5 separate regions of the Homo sapiens genome follow, and regions 2, 3, 4 and 5 are each linked to region 1. The links are contacts of gene promoters, found by promoter capture Hi-C in human tissues and cell types (Jung and others, 2019). All regions are on one chromosome and are shown on one strand. Each heading gives the region's core, a stretch centred on a gene start or on the middle of the fragment in contact. The rest is flanking DNA. Distances are from core to core; before and after follow the strand shown. Region 1 holds the start of ALDH1L2 (aldehyde dehydrogenase 1 family member L2). Region 2 has its middle 180 kb from the start of MIR3922. Region 3 has its middle 160 kb from the start of SLC41A2. Region 4 overlaps C12orf75 (chromosome 12 open reading frame 75). Region 5 overlaps LOC105369957 (a long non-coding RNA gene).

The links. Contacts are between HindIII fragments. The study calls those that stand out against the background at their distance.
Region 2: a fragment that was not itself captured here is called in contact with the fragment with the promoter of ALDH1L2 in region 1 in 5 of the 25 tissues and cell types used here (H1 embryonic stem cells, heart left ventricle, lymphoblastoid cells and 2 more).
Region 3: a contact is called between a fragment that was not itself captured here and the fragment with the promoter of ALDH1L2 in region 1, in 7 of the 25 tissues and cell types used here (adrenal gland, aorta, liver and 4 more).
Region 4: a fragment that was not itself captured here is called in contact with the fragment with the promoter of ALDH1L2 in region 1 in 1 of the 25 tissues and cell types used here (lymphoblastoid cells).
Region 5: a contact is called between a fragment that was not itself captured here and the fragment with the promoter of ALDH1L2 in region 1, in 2 of the 25 tissues and cell types used here (adrenal gland and lymphoblastoid cells).

What each region holds. Positions count from the first base shown.
Region 1 is chr12:105,082,904-105,086,850 of GRCh38, forward strand. ALDH1L2 (aldehyde dehydrogenase 1 family member L2) reads right to left here and starts at 1,555. Exons shown (of 23, transcript NM_001034173.4): 1 at 1,486-1,555. The coding sequence starts at 1,533. RefSeq lists enhancers at 398-1,198, 693-932 and a silencer at 1,433-1,862. The HindIII fragment of the contact is 4,053 bases long and covers 1-3,778 here.
Region 2 is chr12:104,769,992-104,774,213 of GRCh38, forward strand. No RefSeq gene overlaps it. Among named protein-coding and RNA genes, the nearest start is that of MIR3922, 180 kb to the left of the region's middle. The HindIII fragment of the contact is 6,951 bases long and covers 1-4,222 here.
Region 3 is chr12:104,796,338-104,800,397 of GRCh38, forward strand. No RefSeq gene overlaps it. Among named protein-coding and RNA genes, the nearest start is that of SLC41A2, 160 kb to the right of the region's middle. The HindIII fragment of the contact is 7,020 bases long and covers 1-4,060 here.
Region 4 is chr12:105,351,297-105,355,506 of GRCh38, forward strand. All of the region lies in intron 2 of C12orf75 (chromosome 12 open reading frame 75), which reads left to right. Among named protein-coding and RNA genes, the nearest start is that of C12orf75, 23 kb to the left of the region's middle. The HindIII fragment of the contact is 4,396 bases long and covers 522-4,210 here.
Region 5 is chr12:105,379,579-105,383,747 of GRCh38, forward strand. All of the region lies in intron 1 of LOC105369957 (a long non-coding RNA gene), which reads left to right. Among named protein-coding and RNA genes, the nearest start is that of C12orf75, 51 kb to the left of the region's middle. The HindIII fragment of the contact is 7,784 bases long and covers 1-4,169 here.

The DNA of each region.
Region 1 (3,947 bases), core at 305-2,804:
ATTCACCACTCAGTAGCTTCCTTTCGACCACTGAGGAAACTGTCTTCTTCCCAGCCATGAGTATCACTGCTTTTCCATATGCACCCCTGCGTACAGTTAGACCCTGATCACGCCAGTTCTTCCCCACATCCATAGTTTTGTTTATGCCATTTGCCACCTGAGATGTTTACCTTTTATTACTGAAATCTTATGCAAACCGCACTATCAAAATCTTTTCATTCTGCAAGACTTCCTTCTGGTCACCAAAAAAGACAAGTCAGTGAAAGGTGTTGACAGAGGAGGCCAACAAAACAGGCTCAGGCATTGGGCACAGCCCGTTGCTTTCTGTGCTATCCATCTGGGATCCCATGTGCCACGTGGTGGGGGAAGCTAATGAGGGGTCCAGGAGAGCAGGCCAAAGTCCTAGCAGAGCAGGTCTTCCCCACCCCCACCCCTCGTTTTATAAAAGGTGACTATACCTCAAAGTAACTAGAACTGGTTGCAAAGAGTAAAACGAATTCTTATTATTTGGGGTTGTCTGGGATACAGAAAGCTTTTCCTTTGATGCAAGTTTGGGCCAGTTTTTGGTGCTACTCAAGACTTCTCTCTGCCTCCAAGTTTTTTACATCTGAATATATACATATGTACATATGGCTTTGGCATGGCCGAGAAAAAGAATCGATAAGCAAATTCTTTTATGTACTTCCTATAAAAGATACGATACATAAGACAGTTTTTATTTTTTTTTTTTCTCTCTCTCTCTTCCCTAAACAGTCCCGAGGCCCCCTGGGTGCTGAAGGCAGCACCGCAGTGCAACGTGTCCTCTCTCGGTTCCATTTCTGGAGGAGCTGATGCAATTCCAAGGCGCGGGGCTGGGCCAGAGCTCGGTTCTTGTGCTACAGTAGAATAGTGTTCCAGCGTGGCTGCCTCTGCAGCGCCTGGCAATTCTAGAAATTTTGCCATCTGCAGCTCAGCTCAGGAATACTGAGCTTGCAGCCATCAGCTTTGAGTGCCATTATCTGAACCGGCCCTGCGTGCCAGTCTCGAGCGCTTACACCTCCCAGGCCGCCAACGAGGACCCTATTGACTTGATACTCCCCTCCTCCAGGAGACAGTCTCGGTTCCATATGGCTCCAGCTCTTGACCAGGGATCTCATGATTGAAGTGAAAAAGGAAAGGAAGCAGACTCTGTCCTCCTTACCAAGTGACTGTTCCCACCTTGCCATCCCAGCCAGACTTGACACGTCCAAAAACTGCATCCTCAGCCCCCTCCCGGCAGAAGACAATGGCCTGCGTGCCAGTTCCCATCCGGGACCCTCCCCAAGCCCTCCTCTGAGGTCTCTCTGTTTTTGTTTGTTTGTTTGTTTGTTTTAAACGCTGTCTTGGTGTTTAGCAAAGTCTAAGCATCGCTGCTCATCCCCAGCCCCACCGCCCCGGCCCTCCCGCCCCGGAGTCTGGAAACCAGGACAGGGTGACAGCCGGGACGCTCGCCCGGGCCGGACTCACCCGGCCAGTGGAGAAGCGCCGGAGCGCCTGGCTGCCCCGCCGCAGCATGCTGGAGAGGAGCGCTAGCACTGGCGACGCGGCAGCGCGGGAGGCAGGCGGGCGGCGCAGCCTGGGCGCGGCCTGGGCGCGGCCTGCAGTCTGGATGCCCCGGACTGCCTGGCTCGCGGCTCGCCGCTCTCGGCCTCTGCTAGTCCGCACCCCTCCCAAAGCCCACAGCCCGCGGCCCGCCCCACCCTACCAGCTGCAAGGCCCCGCCCCCTAGCTGTCAAGACCCCGCCCCCAGCTGGAAGGCCCCGCCCCGCCAGCTGGCTGCGTTCGGACAGCCAACCTGGTGCGACCCGGCGGAGCGCGTGGGCTTCCTGGAGCCTGTGGGCCCTGACCCTGGTGCCAAGAGCGCACCCAGTCCCAGGGACCGCGCCTCTCCGCTGCCTGGACTTTCCGCCAATTCCAGCCAAGGTCCAGGTGCTTTCTAACTGTGGGACCCTCTACCAGTTACTCAGCCCCGCAGCAGTGTATACGGATCTACCTTATTAGTGGTCAATCTGACATCCCAAGTGCTGTCCATAGCACAGCCCGTAAAAGGCACGCCTGTAGACAGATAGGTAGTGGGGGCGCCTTCGCTGTGGAGGGATCCTGATGCCTACCTCGTAGGACGGTAGGCCGGGCGCGGTGGCTCCCGCCTGTAATCCCAGCACTTTGGGAGGCCGAGGAGGGAAGATGGCCTGAGCTCAGGAGTTCGAGACCAGCCTGGCCACCATGGTGAAACCCCGTCTCTACTAAAAATAAAAAATAATAAAATAATAAAATAATTAGCCGGGCGTGATGTCGCATGCCTGCAGTCCCAGCTACTCGGGAGGCTGAAGCACGAGGATCACTTGAGCCGGGGAGGCGGAGGTTGCAGTGGAGCTGAGATCATGCCACTGCACTTCAGCCTGGACAACAGAGCGAGACTCTGTCTTAAAAATAAATAAATAAATTGGTGCAAAAGTAATTGTGGTTTTTGCCACTGAAAATAATGGCAAACCCGCAATTACTTTTGCATCAACCTAATAGATACGTGCCCTTCTCCCTCACCTCTCTGGAAAAAACGCTCAGACCTGCTTTAGCTGGACGTTTATCTCAAGCCAGACTTCTTAGCCCAGCATTCAGGGCCGTCTGCAATTTGCCATTTTCTCTTATTTCTCACTGCTCTTTTGCATATGTAATTCTGCTTGACTGCAGTTCTTGCCTATTCCTTCTTGGACAATGTTTCCCAGAAAAGCTTGTCATCTGTCACTTGTAATTATCTTGGCACGACCGTTTCTTTTCTGAAAGGTACCGCTTACATGCTGCCTCCTGGAGGCGCTTTTTTCTGATTCTTTTCTCTCTTAGTCTCCTTATTCCCCATAAATAATTGTTCACTCCTCTTAACAGGAAATAATCTTTGTCTATGCATCTGTTATGGCTGTCTCAATCTGCTACTGGTATTTGTATACCTATTAACGTCTCTGTTGGAAGCTCCTTGCAAGCTAAGTCCATGTCTGATTAATCAGGATTTACAGTATCTAGCACTAACCAGAGCTTTAAAAAAATAATAATAAAATAAAAAATAACTTGTTAAAAAAAAACTTGTTGAAACGGATGAATGTGTTTAAGAGAGTAAGGAGACAAAAAAGAACCATCATTAAAACTTGGAGAATTGCGGTTGGGCGCGGTGGCTCACGCCTGTAATCCCAGCACTTTGGGAGGCCGAGGTGGGCGGATCACGAGGTCAGGAGATCGAGACCATCCTAGCTAACACGGTGAAACCCTGTCTCTACTAAAAATACAAAAAATTAGCCGGGCGTGTGGCGGGCGCCTGTAGTCCCAGCTACTTGGGAGGCTGAGGCAGGAGAATGGCGTCAACCCAGGAGGCAGAGCTTTCAGTGAGCCGAGATCGCGCCCCTGCACTCCAGCCTGGGCGACAGAGGGAGACTCTGTTTCAAAAAAAAAAAAACTTGGAGAATTGCAACAAACATCCAAGGTTTTGCTTTGAGCCCTACATCTTGCCAATTCAACCCACTTTCCTGACTGCATTTTGTGACTTCTTGCTTTTTTAAACTTCCAAATATTGATATTCCCTTTATTTATTCTGATCTGTGTATACTAGAAGGGTGCATAAGGAGGGGTTTTTTTTTTTTTTTTTTTTTTTTCCTGAATGAGGTTCCATAGTTATATATTACTATTCCCAAGTTTAGGAAATGTAGAATTTATGTTCACTCAAATATAATGAAATATTCATTGTGTTTACTTTTTCCCTGGAAGAATCAAAAGTATAGTTTCCTTGATAACTGGAAATTAGATCAGATGCAATTAGAGTTTGACAAAGAGACCAACCCCTGCCAATCTATTTCTATACCCAGCAAAAATACTCCTTAAAAATAGAGATAAGACAAAGCCATTTTTAGAAACAAAAACTTGAGAGAATTTGTCATCGGCAGACA
Region 2 (4,222 bases), core at 564-3,063, 310 kb before region 1:
TCTGTGGTTTGCCCTTTTCATTTTCTTAATGTCTTTCAAAGAGCAAACATTTTAAATTTTGATGAAGTCCAATTTATCAATTTTTATTTTACAGCTGGGTTTTTTGTGTCCTGTGTAAGAAATCTTTACCCAACCTAAAGTCTCCAGGATTTTATCCAATGTTTTCTTTTAGAAGTGTCATAATTTTTGCTTTTACATTTACGTTTATGACCATTTAGTTAGTACTGTATATATGAAGTAAGGGTCATAGTTCAGACCTTATAAATATCCAGTTGTTCCATTACCATTTGTTGAAAGAGCTGTACTATTTTTACATTGGTGCCTTTGTCAAAAATCAAGTGATCACATATATGCGAGCTGCTTTCTGGACTCTCTCTGCTGTTCTGTCGATCTATATGCCTGTTCCTATGCCAATATCACACTGCCTTAATTATTATAGCTTTATAGGAGGCCTTGAAGTCAGGTATTATAATTCCCCAAGTATGCTTTTATGTTTTTCTTTATTGCACTGGCTATGACTTCCAATACCAGGTTTAATAAAAGTGGTTAAGAGGAAAGCTTCAGTTTTTTACTATGAAGTATGATTCTAGCTGTAGGTTTTTTGTGGATGCCCTTTATCAGATTAAAGTGGTCAATTTGCTAATATTTTATTTAAATTTTTTCGCCTATGTTCCTAGAAAATATCACCCTATATTTTTCTTGTGATGCTTTTGTCTGGTTTTGATGGGAGGGTAATGCCGGCCTCATAATACAACTTGGGAAATATTCCTTCCTCTTCTATTTTCTGGAGGAATTTGTGTAGAAATTGTATCGTTTTTTTCCTCAAATATCTGGTAGAACTCACTTGCAAAGCTATCTGCTCCTGGAATTTTCACTGTGGGAAGGTTTTTAATTAAAAATTATTTTTATTTAATAGATAAATATTTAATAGATAAATAAAATTATTAATTTTAAGTAAGCTACTTAAGTAATCTAATTTTTCTTGAATGAGCTTTGGTAAAAATACATTTGAAGGAATATATCTGTTTCATCTAAGTTGCTGAATTTATTGGCATAATGTTGTTTATAAGTTTCTCTTATTAACATTTAATGCCTGTTGGATAAGTAATTATATTCTGTTTTTCATTCCCGATATTGGTAGTTGATGTCTTCTCTCTTTTTTCCATTGTCTGGCTGGAAATTTATCAGTTTTATTGATTCTTTCTAAGAACAATCTTTTGGTTTTGTTGATTTTCTCTGCCTTTTTTTGTTTGTTTTTGGTTTCATTGATTTGTGCTCCCATTTTTATTATTTACTTCCTTCTGTTTGCCTTGTGAATAATTTGTTCTTCTTTTTCTAGTTTATGCCAGAACTTTAGATTATTAATTTGAGTCCTTTCTTCTTTACTAATATAAGCACTTAAGGCTAAAATTGTCCTTCTAAGTACTACTTTAGCTGCATCCCATAAATTTTGGCAAATTGTGTTTCCATTTTTATTCAGTTTAAAGTATTTTCTAGTTTTCTTTATAGTTATTTATTTAATTCATAGATTATTAAGTGTGCTGGGAATTTTTTTGATATCTTCATTTTATTTCTACTTAAATTCCATTGTCGTCAGATAACATATTTTGTATGATTTTTGTCCTTTTAACTTCATAGAGACTTGTTTTAAGGCCCAGAATAGGATCTATCTTGGTATATGTTCCCTGTGGACTTTAAAACTATGTTTATTCCGCTATTGTTGGATGGAAGGTTTTATAACTGTCAACTGGATCAAGCTGGTGGATAATGTTCTTCAAGTCTTCCATATCTTATTCATTTTCTGAACATTTATTTATCAATTATTGGAAAAGGGGAGTATTAAAATGTCCTATTATAATTGTGGATTAATCTATTTCTCTTCTCAATTTTTGCTTAATTTTAAAACTTTAAAAATTAGTTGCATACACATTTAAAGTTATGTTTTCTTGATGAATTAACTCCTTTATTATTATGAAATGTCCCTCTTTTTCCCCAGCTGTATTCCTTGTTCTGAAGTCCACTTTGATACTACTATACTAAGCCAGCTTTCTTTTTTCAGTGTTTGCATTATATACCATTTTCTCTCTTTTACTTTTAACCTATCTGTGTATTTATGTTTAAAGTAGCTTTCTTTGTTAACAACCTATATTTGGGTCTTTTAAAATCAAATTAAATTTAATTAAAAAAATTTTTAGAGACAGGGTCTCACTCTGTCTCCCAGGCTGGAATGCATGGTGTGATCATAGCTAACTGCAGCCTCTAACTCCTGGGCTCAAGAGATCATCCTGCCTCAGCCTCCCAAGTAGCCAGACTACAGGTGCACACCCTTTTCCCAAGTAATTTTTTACTTTTTGTAGAGGCGGGATCTTGCAATGTCATCCAGGCTGGTCTTGAACTCCTGGCTCCAAGCAATCCTCCCACCTTGGCCTCCCAAAGTGCTCAGATTACAGGCATGAGCCACCACACTTGGCCAGATATTTTTTAAAAAAAAAATCTAATATGAGAACCTCTTCCTTTTAGTTGGAATATTTAGACTATTTACATTTAATGTAATTATTGATATAGTTAGGTTTAAACCTACTATCTTGTTGTTTTCTATTTCTTATCTTTCTTCCTTTTTCCCTTTTTTTCCTTTACTTTGCTTATATTGGGTATTTTTATTATTCTAGTTTTCCATTTACTTTTGGCTAATTAGCTATTTCTTTGTTGGTTTGTGTTTAGTGGTTGCCTTTGGATTTATAATATGTGTATTTAAACTTATTACAGTCTATCTTTAAAAATTTATGCTATATACACATTTAACACGAGAACCCCACAACAGATTACTTCCATTCCCCTTCTTTTTGCCCTTGTTGTCATATATTTTGTTCTACGTGTTACAAACTATAAAATGTTATCATTTTTGCTTTATCTGTCAATTATCCTTTAAATATGCAAAAAGTGAGAAAGACAATTTAATATCTACCTTCACATTTATCATTTCTGGCCCTTGCTCTTTTGCATAACTCCACACATCTGGTCTCATTTTCTTTCAACCTGAAAAATTTCCTTATTCCTTGTATTATAGGTCTGCTGGCAGCAAATTATCTCATCTTTTGTTTAACTAAAAATTCTTGATCAAATTTGAAAATGTGTGGCCATTACTTGGCCATTACTTCTCTAAATATTCTTTCCTGCCCCTACACTCTTTCTAGGACTCTACTTATATGTTAGACCACTTGATGTTGCTCCATTGATCATGAATGCTTTGTTCATTTTTTAAAGTTTTTGTTTTCTTGGTGTGCTTCATTTTGAATATTTTCTAATTGCTCTTTCTTCAAGTTTACTGATTCTTAATCCTGCGGTTAATGCCATCCCAGGGAAATTTTCATTTCAGATGTTGTATTTTTTATTTCTATAAGTTCCATTTGGATCTTTAAAAGTGTTACATTTCTTTCCTTATAATGATCACATGTCCTTTATATCCTTGAGAATGTGGAAGTGTGTGTGTGTGTGTGTGTGTGTGTAATCTTTTAAAGTCATTATCTGCTAATCCATCATCACTATCATTTTTAGGTCTGCTTATATTGACTAATTTTTCTCCTGATTACTGTTCCAATTTTCTTGCCTTTTTGTATGTCTAGCAACTTTTAATTTGATGGTGGATATTTAATTTTACATTTTTCAGGCTGGGTTTTACTATACTCTTTAAAGGGGTGTTGGACATTTTCTGGCAGGCAATTACATTACTTATGGATTAGACTGATCCTCTTCAGGTTTGTTTTTAAACTCAGTTAAAGTGGGTCTGGAGCAGCCTTTATTCTAGAGCTGATTTAACCCCATTTGTAAGGTGTGGTCTTTCTGAGGGTTCCACTTAATTCCATGAATATTTAATGAGGTCTTTTACACTTGCTAGAAGCAATTCAAATAACTCCCGGCATTGTGTAACCTCTGGGAAATATTTTTCATATAGCACCTCAGCAATTGTCCTTTCCTTGTAAGTTGTTCTCTTCTGGCCTTGTAGGATTTTACTCTATGCATGCACTTACTGGCATTCATTCAAAGACACAAAAGGACCTCTATCCAAATTTCTGATGCTCTTTCTTAGTGTAGCTCTCTTCACTTGCGTACCCTGCTCTGCACCTAATTCTAGCCACCTAGGCATTTCAGAATTTCAGTCTAACTCCTCGACTCAGAGAGACTGTATGGAATTTCCTTCTGTGAACCACAGTCTGGTAATTAC
Region 3 (4,060 bases), core at 246-2,745, 290 kb before region 1:
GTGCAGGGCCAGATAGTAAAGATTTTAGGCTTTCAGGCTCTATGGTCTTTTTTAAGGCTACTCAATTCTACTGTATAGAGGGAGAGCAGCCATAGGCCATATGGAAATGAATGGACATGGCTGAATTCTAATAAGCTTTATTTATCCAGGCAGCAAACTGGATTTGGCCCACTGGCTGAAATTTGCCAAACTTTGCTATAAATCATGCAGCAAAGGGCCCAGCCTTTACTTGCCTAGTAATGGTGAAATTACAAGATAGGATGACAAGTGCATTTGTAATTTTGTTATATATGGCTAGATTCCCCACTATAGAGCTTTTATTCTGCTCTACCACCAGCAATTTTGTCTCCCTACAGCCTTGCCAAGAGAATGTTTTATCCAGTTTTGAATTTTTGCCAATCTGATAGGTAAGTAGTATCTCAGTGTGATTTTAATTAGCATTTTTTTGAGTGGTATTAAATTTTTTTTTCTGTGAACCATCTCTCCTCTGGTTATTTTACTATTGGGTTGCTGGTATTTTTTCCCTTGATTTATAAAAGTTCTTTGTTTGCCAAGGAGATTAACCTTCAATATGTATTCTGCATTTGTTGGATAAAGTGTTCTACAGATGTCAATTAGGTCAAGGTGGATGAGAGTGTTCAAATGCTTGAGATACCTAGTCGTCATTCAAGTAGAGTTGTCTGGCAGGTATTTGGAAATACAGATTTAAAACTCAGTTGAGAGGTTGGGACTAGACAGTTTTGGAATAATCAGTACAGATGATATTTATAACAATAAGATGGGTAAGATCACATCGGGAAAGAAAGTAGATAGAGAAGAGATGATAAAACTGAGCCCTAGAGCATTCCAACATTTAGAGATTGAGAACAAGAGAAGCGACCAGCAAAACAAACTGAGAAGGGGCTTTTAGTAGGGTAAGGAAAGAAAGCGAAGGGCAGACTTTTGGAAGCAAAGTAAAGAAAATATTTCAAGATGGAAGGAGATTCTGTTAAATGACTTTAGAGATTAAATAAGGTAAGAATTCTTATTAGAAATTGATCATTGGATTTGGCAATGTGGAGGCTATTGGTGACTTTGACAGTGAAGATATGTTTTTGGTAAGGAAGTTTAAGAGGAAGAGAATAATTTTGTATAAGAAAGAATCTTGAGTGGCATATTTTTGTCCTAACATCAAATGACTGGTTATTTAAGAAAGACGAAGTAGAGGACAAAGCAAAAAAGCTAAGCATATCGAGTGTCTGAGTAAATCATGATAAGGTTTGTGAAGAATGAATTTATAAAAGCAATTTTTGTGTGATCATGTTGGTTACAATTAGAAGGGAATTATTTGTAAGTTTTTCTAAAGATTGAACTTTGATATTAAAAATACACTAATACAAAATTAAATTTTTGGTCCCCTATGCTAGAATAGCCAGGTTTTCTCAAATTTTTGATCTGCTCTTAGCAAAAATTACAAGACATTTTTATTTTTAATTCTAAAATCTGTTTCTTTAGCAGGCATTTTCTAAACTGTACAGTTTCTATTTCTGCCACATTTCTTCCTGACATTCATTTAATGTCCCTAGTTTCAGGCTGAAAATGCTGTCTTCATTCAGGTTGGTAATTTCATTTAACAAGGTAGAGTTTTCCTGTTGAAGCTTCTCAGATCTATTTCTCAGAAGTTCGACTTTGGCTCTATCTTGCGACATGTGATTTGCAGGTCATAACATCTTGCCTCCTGTTCTTCTTTCTCTACTTGAGAAGGACTGAGATGATCTCTCTCTCCTTCAACTTTTTTGTCATTCCTTAACTTTTTTCTCCAGCTCCAACTCTGTCGTTATAACCTGACAGTAAAATGCTTATCCTGAAGGCCTGGAAAATCAGTGTTTTCTTCTAGTATAACTTAATTCTGTTGGCTTTTCTTAATGTGTCTGAATTGTTCCATGTAACCAGGAAACTTCTGATGATGTTAGTAAGAGACATATATTCCCCTGCTCAAGGTACTAGTTTTCTTGTTTATATTTCTCTATAATATGGTATACATTCATAACCTTGGGCACACTCTTCCTGTGTCTGATTAAGTTCAAGTACCCTTTCATGAGGTTTGACTTCCAGATTATCTAAATAGGCTTCCCATAAGGAGAAGCAGTTACACTGGAGGAGGTTTTTATTTTTGGTAACTGGCCTAAAAAGCAAATATTTTATATTTACCAAGATAATTTCCTGTTGTTATCTTTATTTTTATTATTATGTAGAAAAATTGAGCTTTGAAAAAGTTGCTTTTTTTTTTTACATTTATGAAACTTTATTGCTTTTGAAGTCTTTGGATTATCACTCTGGTTAAATGAATGGCTATTATTTCACAGTGACCTGCGATCCTGTTTTGATCAAGTATTTTGAACTTTTTGGCATCTTTGGCAGGCTTCTCCAGGATCAACATTCTAAATTAAATCTTTTTGACCTAGAATTAACTTCAGGATTTTCCATGTGGGCCACTGGAGAGCCTCAAAGGATGTATCTTTCATCTTGTAGAGATATTAAGTGACTAGGCTTGTTTGTACGGGAAGTATTGTCAAATGATAAGTGATGCTAGGTTTTCTTTCAGTTACATTTATGGGTATGTTATTGATATGAATGTCCCCAACTGTACAAAACTCTTAGAAATCTAATATCTTATTGGCCATAATTCTGGTTATTATATTGTATGCCATAAAATAACCAAATTTCCTTGTCAATTGCTGATTGTAATGAATCAAAGTCAGATTCTTAACCATGGCTATTTTAAGTCTCTGTCATTCACAATTATTGTTTTGATTTTTCTCCAAAAGCATTTGCAATTAGTTTCATGAAAAATACTCTAACAACTACTCTTAAATACAGGTTTCTAATAACTGTAAGATCAATGGACTACATAAAAAATTTTCAAAAATTTAATGAAGAAACTGATGGGTTCATAAAACAGATAAGATCAAGCAAAACAAAAATTAATTACATGAGATTAAGTAACTGATGAAGATGTTTTTATGTTTATTTGAAACATTATTGGTTCTTAAATGTTTTATTTTCCAGATTGAAGGAACTTTTTTTTTCTTAGTTATCCATAGTTTACAGAAATTTGGTAAAGTGTACTCGTGTGAACAAAGATGGAAGCAATTGCTTTTCTACCTACTTGATGCCTCCAAAATGTGGGAACTATTCATGGTTATTTGCATAAATTCAGTAAAAATCTGCTTTCTATAACTGGATACAATGAAAATACTGGTTATATTACCAAGGCTTTGAGTGAAATAGATTGGAGAATATGCATAGAATACCTGACTTCAAGGGTTCTCAGCCTTACGGTGAATAAAAACTCACTTCCTGGCAGGCTCAGGAGCCTTAGGACTGTAGGTAACATCTAAAGTCTTCCTTAGTTTGGTTTCCTAGCCTCAAGAGGTTTTTAAATCTGAGATTCCTGTGTGATCAACATAGGCAGAAATAGTTATATTTATAAAGAAAAAGCTATAATACATCTGCTATTAGATTATAGCTCTGTGCATTGTTTTCAGGTTCTTATTTACCTATAGAGTAGACTAGATCCTGAATTCTTTTATATTCCTTTAATCCAACTTTCTTCCATGGAATTACTAAAAACAGGAACTGCTCTGTTCCTAAATCTCTATAAGCTGAAATGATAAATTTTAAGGAACAAGTCTTGTGCCTGATGTATGAGCCACACAAAGAGTTCACCAAACTGCCTAATGCCATAACCAGAGACATTCAAACTGCAAACAGGATAAGAAATTGACATTTTCATGCTGTAGACAGCTTTTCCCAAGATATTGGCACAAGACTCTATATCATAACAAGACCCTGACCTCCCTTACTGCTACCTTTTTCACTTGGCTGGATAATGGTGTAAATTTCTTAATCAGTAGCTTCTGCCAGTAACTAGACAGAAACTAATCTAAAAGATTCCTTAGCCCACTTATTGGGTGACTTTGGCAACATCCTTAATACAATTGGTGCTCACCTTTTGCTTTAATTCAACCCAGTCATGGGATACTAGATGATAAATAGCTCTATATTATTTACTGGCTAA
Region 4 (4,210 bases), core at 1,470-3,969, 270 kb after region 1:
TACTGAGAGTAAAGAACTTAGAATAGGGCAAACACAATATTATGCAGACCACAGGAAAGTCTTTGTGGGAAAATGGTTGTTATTTTTGGAAGCCAGAAATACTATATATTTAAAAAATCAATTCTCTAGGAAAGGTCTGCAATTTTTACTACTCGTTTTTCTTATTTATTTGCTGTTTTCTATAGGTGAGAAGTCAGTATATAATAATAAATAAAATGATGTATCTGTCCTGAAGTAGTTCACTGTCTACTAGGGACCAAAATACAGTGTGGTAAGTGCTAATTATTCCAGTGTTCAGAATTTAATGCTGGTCTTGGAATTGAAGGATGAACAAGAGTTCATGCAGAAAAGGAGAAAAATGGCAACCCATGGCAGAGGACAAGCATGAAAAAAGGCATGGGAGTGCCAGAGGACAGTAGGTCTGGGACCAGCCAGCCAGGTGGTGTCCCCTGGAGCCTGTGCCTGTGGTACAGTCTGGGCAGAAGTGAAAGATGAGGTTGATGGGCAGGGCTGGCTTGTGAAGGGCCTTGGGTGCAAGGCCAATAATCGTGCTTGTTTTTTTTTATGCATTCAAGGGCTGATAGAGATTTTAAGGTGGAGGAATTAAATGATTATGTTTGAGTTTTAGGGCAGTAACTCCCAAAGCAGTGTGACACATGGGATGAGGGAGGGTGCAGGCACAGAGGAATAATGGAAGTGAGGCTACAAGAGGGTCAGATAGCAGAGGGAAAGGAGAAGAGGTGATACAAACAAGATGCATTAGAAAATGTAATTAATAAGATTTGTTTAATGACTGAACGGGGAAGGAAAGGAAAGGAAACTCTGAGGATAATGCTGCAGTCAAACTTGAGCCAAGGGAAGCGATGGCTGATAGTCCAAAGAGGTCATGGGGGGCTGAAGGAGGAAGAGAAGTCATTGCGTGTGTCATGATGGCCACATTGGTCACCCTGGGGACTGTAGTTTCAGTTGAGCAGGGTGAATGATAACCAAGTCAAAGTGGAAGTGAGCCAGGTGCAAGGAAGTGGAGAGAGTGATGTGGGTCTTTGGTTTTTATGCTGTTTGGCGGTAAGGAATGGAGGGATGTTGGTGGCTTTAAGAGGAGGCAAATTTTCAGAATATACTGTATTAGAAAAAGAATACCAAGGAAATTTGGAAAGTACAGGAAAGTATTTTTTAAGAGAAAAATTCAGTTATTATTCTACCACCAGAGACAATCATTATGAACATTTTACACTTTTCTTCAAGTGTTTTTTGGTTGTTTCTGCCCAGTTGTGAGTATGGTTGATTTTGTGTATTGAAGTTTGTTTTTCCTTTTGTCTTTTTTTAAAAATTATTTTTTGGCATGGAGGAGGCATGGATATTGCTGTAGGCTAAAAGACAGGAACCAGGCGAGTAAGAAAAGCTGATGGTGGTTTGGGGAGGGGGTTTCTCTCTGGTGGTGGAGAGAATAACGATGCATGTAAATCCTATGACAGGCTAGAGAACTCAAAACCTAGCTAGGTTAACCTTCAACACTTGAAAGCATGGTTGACAATGTCTAGAAACTTAATCACCATAAGAAAAAGCCTACATGTGTATCAGAAAACAAGCCTATTTTTCCCTCTCTTTCTGTCTCTTTGAAATTAAATCACAGTGCAGTAACACACTGAACAAAACAAACAAAACAGTGAATTCAAGGTAATGACATTCGGCCGCTTTCACAAACCTGCCAACATCAACCATGTTCTTATTTTAGTGTGGCAGATTCTCAGCTATTTGGCACAAATAGGCTGCGTTGGGATATTTTTGGTAGGAAATGGCAGAAGCCCAGTTTAAACTGGCCTAAACAAACAAACACAAAGGAATTTATTGGCATGTGGAGTGGAAAAGCTCCAGGGACTTGGCTGTAGTCACAGCTGGATCCAGGTGATCAAACAACAGGAAGAAATTCTCTTCTCTGCTTTCGTCTTCATTCTTAGGCAGCTTTCCTCAAGTGGTGACAAACAGGACCAGTTTATATCTTATCAGCTTCCTAATTCCTGTGGAAAAAAGCAGCTTCTTTTTCCTTGTAGTTTGATCAAAAGTCCTAGGGCTGGGCTCTCTTGGCCCGTTGGGGTCATGTTCCTATCTCGGAATCAGTCAGTGGGCCAGGAGAATGTGGGGTGCTCATTGGCCAGGCTGCAGTCATGTGCTCACCACTGGAGCCAATCAGTATCATCAGCCCCACCTTACCATATGGCCAAAGAGCAGAAGAGGGGTGATTCCCCACGGAAAAATTGGGATGCCGTTACCAAAAAAAAGGGGAGAAATTGTAAGTGGGCAAACCGAAACAATTGGAATTTAATTGAAAGCATTTTTTTTTGTAGATCAATTTTCGTGTTCTTAAAGAAGTCTTGATTTAAAGCTTAAGCAATATTTATAAGAATATTATGACTACGTTTCAAATAAGAAACAGTATTAAATAAGTTGACTCAAATATAATGTTTGCTGTTGAAAATAAAAAACCATAGCTACTCAATGTAAACAATGTAATTCAAATACTTCTTTCACTTAAAACATGTAAAGTGAATCTTACTGAGATTCTTTCCTTGGTAAAGCTATTTTATTATTATGGAAGGTAGCAAATACAGGGAAAAATATTTTGGAATGAAATGACATAAAACCCATTGGCAATTTGTTTTTGTTTTTGTGTTTGGAAAAAAGAAATGATAAATCTTTTATGTTGAGTTTCTTGGGATCCTTTATAAATTTACCATGTCTAATGCACCCATGTCAGCTGAGCCCTCTCTGCTCCTCATAGATACAGACCTTAGGGTATCTGATGGGCTCTTTTCTCATCCATGTAGTAGAAGGTAACGCTGTCTTCTGAGGGTGAAGAGGATGGGGTTGAAGTAGCATTGAAAAAGCCTGCATTTTGGAAGCAGAGGGACTTGTGTTTAAAATCCCCTTCACCATTTGCTAGCTGTGTTACATTGTGTCCTTAGTATAATTATCTGTGAAATTGGGATAATATAATAACTGTGCAGGGTGATCATCTTCATCATCATCATTCTTACAGTAGTAGCTAATCTTTACTGAGGACTGTGCACCATACACTGATTTCCAGCATTTTCTGTACGTTATCTCCTTCCATACCCATGATAATCTGATGGACAGAATAATGATGTTTCATTTTACAAGTGAGGAGGTGGGGAGCACAGAGAGCTGAAGTAGCTGCTGGAGGGACAGATTACAAATACAGTATATTTAATATCCTAGGAAAATACTTGGCATTATGCTTGTTGCCCCCGGTGAATGACAGCTAGAATTATTAGTTAGTTTAAAATGTTGTTGAAAAAATTTGGCAGGGCCTCTGACATGAATACTTGATGGCAGAAGACCCAGCATATTGAGGGCCTTGCTGTGGTTAGAAATCATATATTCCCATTGGTAGCCATGATGAGATTTTCCTTAGGTCGGACCCTGTGAAATAGGAGCAGGAAGAGAGAGAGCAGATGGACGGATTCATCCAGGGATGGAGAGGAATAGGTGGTGACCAGCAAGTGCTGCAGAAATACTTGACTGCAAGACATGTGCTAGGGAGAGAGGGAAGGGAAACACGAGGGGCTGATGGATAGGGAGGACGGGGAGGGATGGATGAACTGGAGCTGATGTTGCAATAAGAAAGCAGCCTTCTTGGGAATGATGGGACTATCGAAAGGAGGATTTTTTTTTCCTCCCTAGGGAGTGGGATTTTCTACTCTAAAATGTGGTAAAATAGTTCCAGGAACTATACTCCATGGAGCAGCCATCGGAGTATGTTAGCGGAGCAGCACAGAAGTTGTTGGGATAGAGGAAGTCAGCAAAATATGAGGTGAGAGGTTGGATGGGTGGTTTTCACGAATTTCTTTTTCTTTTTCTTTTTCTTTTTTTTTTTCAGAGTTTTGCTCTCTTGCCCAGGCTGGAGTGCAGTGGCACTATCTCAGCTCACTGCAACCTCTGCCTCCTGGGTTCAAGTGATTCTCCTGCCTCAGCCTCCCAAGTAGCTGGGATTACAAGCGCATGTCACCACGCCCAGCTGATTTTTGTGTTTTTAGTAGAGTTGGGATTTTGCCATATTGGCCAGGCTGGTCTCGAACTCCTGACCTTGTGATCCGCCCGCCTTGGCCTCCCAAAGTGCTAGGATTACAGGTGTGTGCCACTGCACGTGGCCATTTTCATGGAGTTTTAAATTGACCAAGATAATGGTGCT
Region 5 (4,169 bases), core at 68-2,567, 300 kb after region 1:
GGCACCACCCTCTATTTCCTGAGCCCATTCATTCTTTCTTTCCTTAGATGACTATTTCCTATCTTCTAGCTTTTCCTCAAACCTCCAACACATCCTCTCATCCTCACTCTCAGCTGTCACCCTTGCTTCCTATCTCACTAACAATGTAGAAACAATGTAGAAACAATCGGCCGGGCGCGGTGGCTCACGCCTGTAATCCCAGCACTTTGGGAGGCCGAGGCGGGCGGATCACGAGGTCAGGAGATCGAGACCATCCTGGCTAACACGGTGAAACCCTGTCTCTACTAAAAATACAAAAAATTAGCCGGGCGAGGTGGCGGGCCCCTGTAGTCCCAGCTACTCCGGAGGCTGAGGCAGGAGAATGGCGTGAACCCCAGGGGGCGGAGCCTGCAGTGAGCCGAGATTGCGCCACTGCACTCCAGCCTGGGCGACAGCGAGACTCCGTCTCAAAAAAAAAAAAAAAAAAAAAAAAAAAAAAAAAAAGAAACAATCGAGCTTCCCCCACGATGGGTACCATTGCTCCCCCTTTCCCGCATTGCATCCCATCCTCTTGCACCCAACCAAGCACTTTGCCCCAACAATTCTCCAACCAGTTCTTCCCGCCTACAGGATTATTTCCATCATCATACAAACATTATTTTATTTCTCCCGTCCTAAAAAAAGAACCGTCTCTCGATCAAATGCCCCTTTCTCTCCTTCCTTTGCCATCAGAGCTCCTAATAAGATTAGTCTATAATCACTGTCTCCACTTTCTCTCTTGAACCTACTCCAGTCAGGTCTTTGCTCCTCTCATTCCACTAAGACTGGTTCTCATGGGCACCAGTGGCCTCCTTATTGCTAATCTAATGGTCAATTCTTAGTCTTCATCTTAATCCTGATCCCTCCAGCCTCCCTGAGACTTCTCCACTTGGCTTCTGGGTCACCGCATTCTCTTGATTGTTTTCTTGCCTCTCTGTCTGCTCGTCCTCAGTATCCTTTGCTGATTCCTTCTGGCATCCAAACCTCTGAACACAGGCGTGCCCACAGCCTTCATCTTTGGACAGATCCTCTTTTCTGTCCATTCTATGTGCTGTTAATTCCTGTGTGCCCTCAGCCTTGACCTCTCCCTAAGCTTCAGTCCTCTATCCAACTGTCTACTTGGTGTCTCTACTAGGATGTCTTAAACCGTATCTCATATTAATAAGCTCATATCTGAGGTCTTGATCTCCACCCTCTACCCCTGTTCTGTTTTGTTCCTTTGCCAACTTCTCCAACTTAGTAAATGGCAACTTCATTCTCCAAGCTGCTCAGGTCAAAAAGCTGGGACTCACCCTGACTCTTTCTTAGCTCTCCCCCATCCCCGAATCAGCAAATCCTGTAGGTGCACGTGCCACCTTCACGTCTCTAGATTTCAATCTCTTCTCACCATCCCCATCACGTCTATTCCATTGCCACCATCATCTCCATCCTAGATTACGGCACTAGCCTCCTTCGTTCCTTAGCCCACCTCAGCCTGTTCTGAACACAGCAGCGAGAGGGATCTTGTTAAATTCCAAGTCAAACCCTCCAGTGCTCCCCTTCTCTTCCAGGGAAAGTTGAATTCCACACGGTCCTCCATAACACATCTATCTCCTCCTCCCCTTCTGATTTCGGTTACTCCTCTGACATCACTTACACACATTACTCTTCTCCTCTCTGCCTTTCTTCGGCCACACTGATTTTGCTTTACCTCGAACTTGCCAACCAGGCTCTCATCTCACACCTTCTCACTTGCCGATCCCTCATGTCTGCAATCTTGTCCTCCAGATATTTGCACGCCATCTCCCTATTTAGCACTTTACTCATATCTCCCCAGTAAGCCCTTCTCTGCCCACCCCATCTAAAATTCACGCCCCTTTCACCCAACACTTCCAGTTGTTATTGCTAGATTTATTTTTCTCATTAGCATTTACAATGAACATGCTGCATACTTTACTGATTTCCCTTGTTTACTGACAGCCTCCTGCACAAGAATGGAAACTCCAGGAAGCAGGAATTCCTTATCTCACTTGCTCATTGCTGTATCTCAGCACCCAGCCCAGAGCCTACCACCTAGTAAATGCCTAATAAGTATTTTTTTGAGTGACAAGATACTAAATATGATAATTCGCAGCCTTGGCATGAATGTGGCCAAATGGTCACTCTCATCTTTGCTTGGAAGTTTCAATTACTAAAACCTTTCTAGAGAGCAGTTTGGCAATTTGAATCAAGAACATTTAAGGCCAGGTGCGTTGGCTCATTCATGTAATCCCAGCACTTTGAGAGGCCGAGGCGGGCAGATCACTTGAGCTCAGGAATTTGAGACCAGCCTGGGCAACATGGGAAAACCTGGTCTCTACAAAAAATACAAAAAGTAGCCTGGTGTGGTGGCTCTTATCTGTAGTTCCAGCTACTCAGGAGGCTAAGGTGGGAGGATTGCTTGAGCCTGGGAGGTCGAGGCTGCAGTGAGCCATGCTCGCGTCACTGCACTCCAGCCTGGGCGACCCTGTCTCAAAAAAAGTGTGTGTGTGTGTGTGTGTGTGTGTGTGTGTGTGTATAATGAGATGTAGAGACTTACAAAAGGAATGTTCATCAAAGTTGCTTATAGTAAAGGGGAGTTGGAAACCATATAGTGTCCAACAATAAAGGGCTGCTTAAAAATTATGAATCAGCTATACAAAGGAATATTGTAGAGTCATCAAAATTATACTTTTATGCGTAATTTAATGGGAAAATGTGCATTGTCTATTTCACAAAACAAAGATATTAAATTTTGTATAGAATTATCCCAGATATATATGAATGTGTGTATATATGTATACATGTGTACATATATATGTATACACATGTACATATATATACACATGTACATATATATGTATACACATGTACATATATACACACATGTACATATATGTATATATACACACGTACATATATGTATATTTGTATACACATGTACATATATACACACAAATATAGTATATCTATAAGAGAGACAGGAAATACTGGCTTTCTGTTTGTGATGAAATGCAAATTCCTTATGTATTTTTCCAAAATGTTTAAAATGAGGCTTTTGTAATCAGAAGTATATAAGCCCCCTTCCCCCAAAGAAAATGATTATTCTACTGCCCGTCTTGACTGTATTCTTACTTGGGGGCAGGGTGGGTGGCGTGAACAGGGAGAGCTAATCTCTCCTTCTTTCTGACTCATTCCACAGTCAATCCTTTTTCTTATTATTTTCCAAAGGCATGAGGACCTTCCATGTTCCGAAACCATTGTCCAGAGTATTTCTTCTGGACTATTTTCCACTTCCTTCCATCTGACCGGCCAGCTGTTCTGCATTTGTAAAAGCTGGTTTCTGATGTCATCTCTAGGCAGGACCGCTCCCTCCCTCTCCTGCACTCCTATACTTCGTGGCATATCCGCCCCAAGATAACACTTGTCACTCTGTTTTCCAAATTCAGTTTCATTCATTTGCTTCACATGTGCACTGAGCCCACTGACTTCTTTCCCTGTCTGTTGCCAGCACTGGAGACCAAGCCTGCACGCTTTGGCCCAGACCATCTCATTCACCTTTTAACACAGAATCAGGGTGAGTGGAGAGTGGGGGAGTGGTGTGGTGGGTCTTTGCCTCTCGCTGTTCAGTGAACTTCATGCCTGTCCTCCTGATCCCCAGCGCTAACACAGGGTCAGGCTCGCGGGAGTGAACAACCACCATTTATCTCCGGCTTGTTGGGGGAAGCCCTTTCATTTACTTGACAGTTTACCTGTCAATTTTACGTGCGTGGTCATTTTTAATCCTCTGCACTTTCAGGTAATAGGAAAATAATTTGAATCAAGTTCTTCCTTCACCATTGGCGTAAAATCGGTGATTAAACTTTTAATATTTAACGTCTTAAAAAAAATTCCCCGGGCTAGCGTCATGCCTAAGTAATGCATGCATCTACTTCCCCCTGGTGGACTCATCTTCTAATAGCAGCTTTGTTTTCCCCCCTTTATTATTGGCAGGAGTAATCCATCTCTCACTTTCCTTAACACAGATATTCATGGATTGCAGGATTCAGCAGTGTCTTCATAATAGCAGGAAGTTTATGTTCTGGCTTTGCCACTTACTAGCTGTGTAACTTGGGCAATTTACTTAACTTCTCTGCGTCTCGGTTTCTTAACCT